Regions from separate parts of the Homo sapiens genome. Here region 1 is linked to region 2. The links are contacts of gene promoters, found by promoter capture Hi-C in blood cells and fetal thymus (Javierre and others, 2016). All regions are on one chromosome and are shown on one strand. The core of a region is centred on a gene start or on the middle of the fragment in contact, and the rest is flanking DNA. Distances in the headings are between cores, read along the strand shown. Region 1 overlaps SEC61G-DT (SEC61G divergent transcript). Region 2 holds the start of MRPS17 (mitochondrial ribosomal protein S17).

What was found. Contacts are between HindIII fragments. The CHiCAGO score rates a contact against its expected background, and 5 or more counts as called.
Region 1: a fragment that was not itself captured here is called in contact with the fragment with the promoter of MRPS17 in region 2 in 5 of 17 cell types (total CD4 T cells, total B cells, naive CD8 T cells and 2 more); the score reaches 7.6 in total CD4 T cells.

Annotation. Positions count from the first base shown.
Region 1 is chr7:54,775,302-54,778,001 of GRCh38, forward strand. All of the region lies in intron 1 of SEC61G-DT (SEC61G divergent transcript), which reads left to right. Among named protein-coding and RNA genes, the nearest start is that of SEC61G-DT, 17 kb to the left of the region's middle. The HindIII fragment of the contact is 168 bases long and covers 1,357-1,524 here.
Region 2 is chr7:55,950,441-55,953,140 of GRCh38, forward strand. MRPS17 (mitochondrial ribosomal protein S17) reads left to right here and starts at 1,437. Exons shown (of 3, transcript NM_015969.3): 1 at 1,437-1,490. RefSeq lists an enhancer at 1,490-1,549. The HindIII fragment of the contact is 16,512 bases long and covers 1-2,700 here.

The sequences.
Region 1 (2,700 bases), core at 191-2,690, 1.2 Mb before region 2:
AGATAAGCGGAAGCTGGAAGAGGGAAACCCTGGGCTTACAGCCTGGTTCTGCTCCCAACCACTACTGCTAATGTCTTGAGCTTGTTACCAAAGCTCCCTGAGCTTTAGTTTGTTTTCCAGAGAAAAGATGAAACCAGACCTCTCTCCTAGGGCTGCTTTTGAGGACTACCAGGGATAATGTGTGCAAAGCGCCTGACACAGAGGGCTTCACTCTGTCATTAATTTGCTTCCCACCTCTTGTTTGTGGTTTCCCTGGAATCTTGTGACTAACTCCTGTTGCAGGAAGTCAGGGACCCCAAACGGAGGGACCGGCTGAAGCCATGGCAGAAGAACGTGGATTGTGAAGATTTCATGGACACTTATCACTTCCCCAGTCAATACCCTTGTGCTTGCCTATGCCTGTCTTTACTTTAATCTCTTAATCCTGTCAGCCAAGGAGGATGTATTTCGCTTCAGGACCATGTGATAATTGCGTTAACTGCACAAATTGTACAGCATGTGTGTTTGAGCAATATGAAATCTGAGCACCTTGAAAAAAGAGCAGGATAACAGCAATTGTTCAGGGAATAAGAGAGATAACCTTAAACTCTTGACCGCCGGTGAGCTGGGCAGAACAGAACCATATTTCTCTTCTTCCAAAAGCAAATGGGAGAAATATCTCTGAATTCTTTTTCTCAGCATGGAACGTCCCTGAGAAAGAGAATGTGCGCCTGGAGGTATAGGCTTATAAACAGCCCCCCCGCCAGGTGCACCTGTCTCTTATGGTCGAGGCTGCAGAGATGAAATATACTCCAGTCTCCCATAGTGCTCCCAGGCTTATTAGGAAGAGGAAATTCCCACCTAATAAATTTTGATCAGACCAGTTGATCACAAAACCCTGTCTCCTGATAAGATGTTATCAATGACAATGGTGCCTGAAACTTCATTAGCAATTTTAATTTCGCCTGGGTGCTGTGGTCCTGTGATCTCGCCCTGCCTCCACTTGCCCTGTGATATTCTATTACCCTGTTAAGTCCGTGATGTCTGTCACCCATACCTATTCACACACTCCCTCCCCTTTTGAAAATCCCTAATAAAAACTTGCTGGTTTTTGTGGCTTGTGGGGCATCATGGATCCTACCAACGTGTGATGTCTCCCCAGGACGCCCAGCTTTAAAATTTCTCTCTTTTGTACTCTGTCCCTTTATTTCTCAAGCCGGCCGACGCTTAGGAAAAATAGAAAAGAACCCACGTGATTATCAGGGCAGGTCCCCCGATAAACTCCGTTTCTGAGATCAGTTCTAGTGGCAACCCTCCAAGTCAGCTAGGCCTCAGTTCCTGATCTTACCCGTAAACGCAGTGAGTTTGCTTCTCACAAGCTTTGGTTATCTTGTCTGTCTCCCTTTTTGAAATCCAGGTTTGAAGACTATTCGGCCATGCTTTTGCAGTGAGCACCAGCTTGCTAGAGCCCCTGGGGGGCCGCAGCCAGCAAGCTGGAGAGTTACCAATGTTCCAAGAATGTTTCAGAACCACTTGCTTTGTCAAAGCTTGGCCTTGTGGACTTCCCGTTTTACATGAGATTCTCTAGTCTTTGCCCATCTTCATTTCCTATTGCCTCCTATATATTTTTTTCTTTTTCTTTCTTTCTTTCTTTCTTTTTTTTTTTGTCAGTGGCAACTTTTACATGATTTTCTGTGATCATGCACACAGGGACTAAAAGCACTCACTCTCTCTGCATCTGGGACCCGTCCTCTCCTCTACCTCTCACTGCAGTCAATGGTGTTTGCTCCTCTGCCCTTTGCTCTTGCTGGGCCATGGTGACAGCTTCCTGGCTAGGTTCTCTGCCTTCATTCATGGCCCTGTGTGCCATTTTCCCCGACATCCAAGACTTAAACTTTTAAATATGGTCATCACATCATGTTAACTCTTCACTTTCACTTCTCGCGTAGCTGCTTGCTGTAGCTGGAGTCAAATCTACCCTCCAAAGACCCCCGGCTCCCTCTCTTCCCCTGACTGGCTGTGCTCTGGCTCTTTCCGACCACACGTGTGTCAAGCTCCTACTATCATCCAGGCCTCCCCACGTGCTTGTCCTGTGCTCTAATCGTCTTTCTACACCCAGCTGCTGCCTTTTATCATTCCTGCTTTGGTTCTATCACCGTCTCCTCAAAGAGGTCTTCCCGGCTGTCCCAACTGAAGTAGTCCTCACTTAGCCTCAGCCCCTGTGTAAGCCATGGCAACGTTTCATTTCCTTCATCACACTTAGCACTGTTGAAAATTGTCTTTATTTATTTGTTCCAGCACCACAAAGTTCAGGTGTAAAATAGAGTTTACTGGAGGAAAACAAGCCAAGAAGTAGTGGGTTGCACGGTCTCCTTAAGTCGTGTTACTCCTTAGCTCTTAGACAGGATATACACAGTCTGGTGCATCAGGGCCAAGGCACCAGCAAGGAAGGACAATGTCCCCATGATGCTCTGTATATTTATGGTGTGTATTTAAGAGAAGGGAGCAGGGGATATCTGTGGGACCACACACGTTCTCTAGTTGAGAAAGTGGCCTTGTTGGAAGGGAAGGTCCTCCAGAACCTGGCAACCAGACACTGACCCGTCCTCCTATTAGGCTCGGGTAGAGCGCCTACCAAGTACTCTGCTGAGCTATTATATAAAGGCAGGGAGGAAGTGAGTCCCTGGGGCCATGCTCTTCTGCCTCTCCTGAGTAAAATAT
Region 2 (2,700 bases), core at 187-2,686:
GTTGTCGGGGTAGGGACCAGAGTTCTAACTGTGGAAGAAAGGAGATAAAAATACGGAACTGGTGAAGCAAAAGAAGAAACCCACTGGTGGCTCATGCCTGTAATCCCAGCACTTTGGGAAGCCGAGACGGGCGGATCACGAGGTCAGGAGATCGAGACCATCCTGGCTTACACGGTGAAACCCCGTCTCCACTAAAAAAAATACAAAAAATTAGCCGGCCTGGTGGCAGGCGCCTGTAGTCCCAGCTACTCGGAAGGCTGAGGCAGGAGAATGGCGTGAACCCGGGAGGCGGAGCTTGCAGTGAGCCGAGATCGCGCCAGTGCACTCCAGCCTGGGCGACAGAGACAGCCTCCGTCCCAAAAAAGAAAGAAACCCACTGCTGTTTAAAGGTAGGTGTGTGTGTGCGTGTGTGTATGTTTCAATGTATCGATAGCTACATCTGCTGAAATAGCCTACAGGCAGGAAAATCCCAGTAGCAAGTTGCTCACCTAGCACTCAGAGCTTTGTTGCTAAGTACCACTCCCCACTGATATTTTTCGTTTGAAAAACTTCTGATACAATAACTGGTCAGGGAAAGTATAGGTAAATCTGGACCAGCCAGGCACAGTGGCTCATGCCTGTAATCCCAGAACTTTGGGAGTCCGAAATAGGTGGATCACTTGAGGCCAAGAGTTCAAGAACAGCCTGGCCAACATGGTGAAATCCCGTCTCTACTAAAAATAAAAAAAATTAGCTGGACGTGGTGCCAGATGCCTGTAGTCCCAGCTACTCAGGAGGCTGAGGCAGGAGAATCCCTTAAACCCAGGAGGCAGAGGTTGCAGTGAGTCAAGATCATGCCACTGCACTCCAGCCTGGGCAACAAGAGTGAGACCCTGTCTCAAAAAAAAAAAAAAAAAAAACACTTTTAGGCCAGGCACGGTGGCTCACGCCTGTAATTCCAACACTTTGAAAGGCCAAAGTGGTTGGATCACTTAAGGCCAGGAGTTCGAGACCAGCCTGGCCAACATGTGAAACCCTGTCTCTACTAAAAATACAAAAATTAGCTGGGCATGGTGGTGCACGCCTGTAATCCCAGCTACTTGGGAGGTTGAGGCAGAAGAATCGCTTGAACCCGGGAGGCAGAGGTTGCAGTGAGCAGAGATCGCGCCACTGCACACCAGCCTGGGCGACAGAGCGAGACTCCGTCTCAAAAAAAAAAAAAAAAAAAAGAAACAAAACAAAAGAATGAAAGAAAAGTCCGAAACCTCCTGCGCCACTGTCCACTAGCTGCGCGCGTTAGGAAACCAGAGGTCAGCGCCCCCGACCCCGCCACCGCCGCGGGTCCCTTTAAGGGAGAGTGGGCGGGGTCCTGCCTTTAACTCCGCCCACGGCTAAGGAGATGCACGGCCTACGAGAGGGGTAGTGTGGGACTGAGCCAATGCGTACGGCGTGACGCCATCCCGCTGCGACCGGCGCTCCCCGGGGCAGGTGGCTGCATAGTCTTGGCGGAGGTGAGTCTCGTGGTGGAGGTGAGGGCAGGCTCCGGGGTATTGCTGCCGGGGGAGGATTTGCTGGGGACCCAAGGCACCCTCGCGTGAGAGCCCTGAGAGCGAATCGCTTCGTCTGACCTCGGGGTTGTCTGGGGCGAGGGCACGAATCACCCCAACCTTTCCGAAGCCTGGTGGAATGGCTTGTGAACTGATCTCAAAAGCAGCCCAAGTCATCCGTCGCTGGGCCGGGGAGGGGGACACCGCGGCGGCCCCGCCGAGTGCTACCTGGGCACTGAGCCTGTGGGGAGAGGCGACCCAGCGGGGTGGAGAGAGATAAGGGACCAGTAACGTCCAGCGTTTGTCCGTGGTATTGAGCGTTCTGTGGGTCAAATTCTCAAAGCACTCCTGCGAAATAGGCCTGCCCATTTTGCAGAAGGGGAACGTGAGGCTTGGCGAAGTTAAAGTTACCGCTTTGTAAGCGCTGTAAAGATGAGAGGTTGGGTAGTGGGGAACGTGTAAGCATCTCTGAAATGGTGATTCAAGCCGGGCGCGGTGGCTCACGCCTCTTAATCCCAGCACTTTGGGAGGCTTGAGGCGGGCGGATCACCTGAGGTCAGGAGTTCGAGACCAGTCTGGCCAACATGGTGAAACTCTGTCTTTACTAAAAATACAAAAATTAGCTCGGCGTGGTGGTGCGGGCCTGTAGTCCCGGCTACTCGGGAGGCTGAGGGAGAAGAATCGCTTGAACCCGGGAGGCGGAGGTTGCAGTGAGCCGAGATCGCGCCACTTCACTCCAGACTGGGCGAAAGAACTAAACTTCATCTAAAGAAAAATACATATGGCCGGGCGCGGTGGCTCACGCCTGTAATCCTAGCACTCTGGGAGGCCGAGGCGGGCGGATCACGAGGTCAGGAGATCAAGACCATCCTGGCTAACACGGTGAAACTCCATCTCTACTAAAAATACAAAAAAATTAGCCGGGCGTTGTGGCGGGCGCCTGTAGTCCCAGCTGCTCGGGAGGCTGAGGCAGGAGAATGGCGTGAACCCAGGAGGCGGCGTTTGCAGTGAGCCAAGATCGCACCACCGCACTCCAGCCTGGGCGACAGAGAGAGACTACATCTAAAAAAAAACAAAACAAAACTGTTTCTGGGTGGAGGGGGGAACGAAAAAGAAAAAAACTGTTTCTGGACTAACCTGGACAGTTCTTGTGACAAAATTCATGTGGCATCAT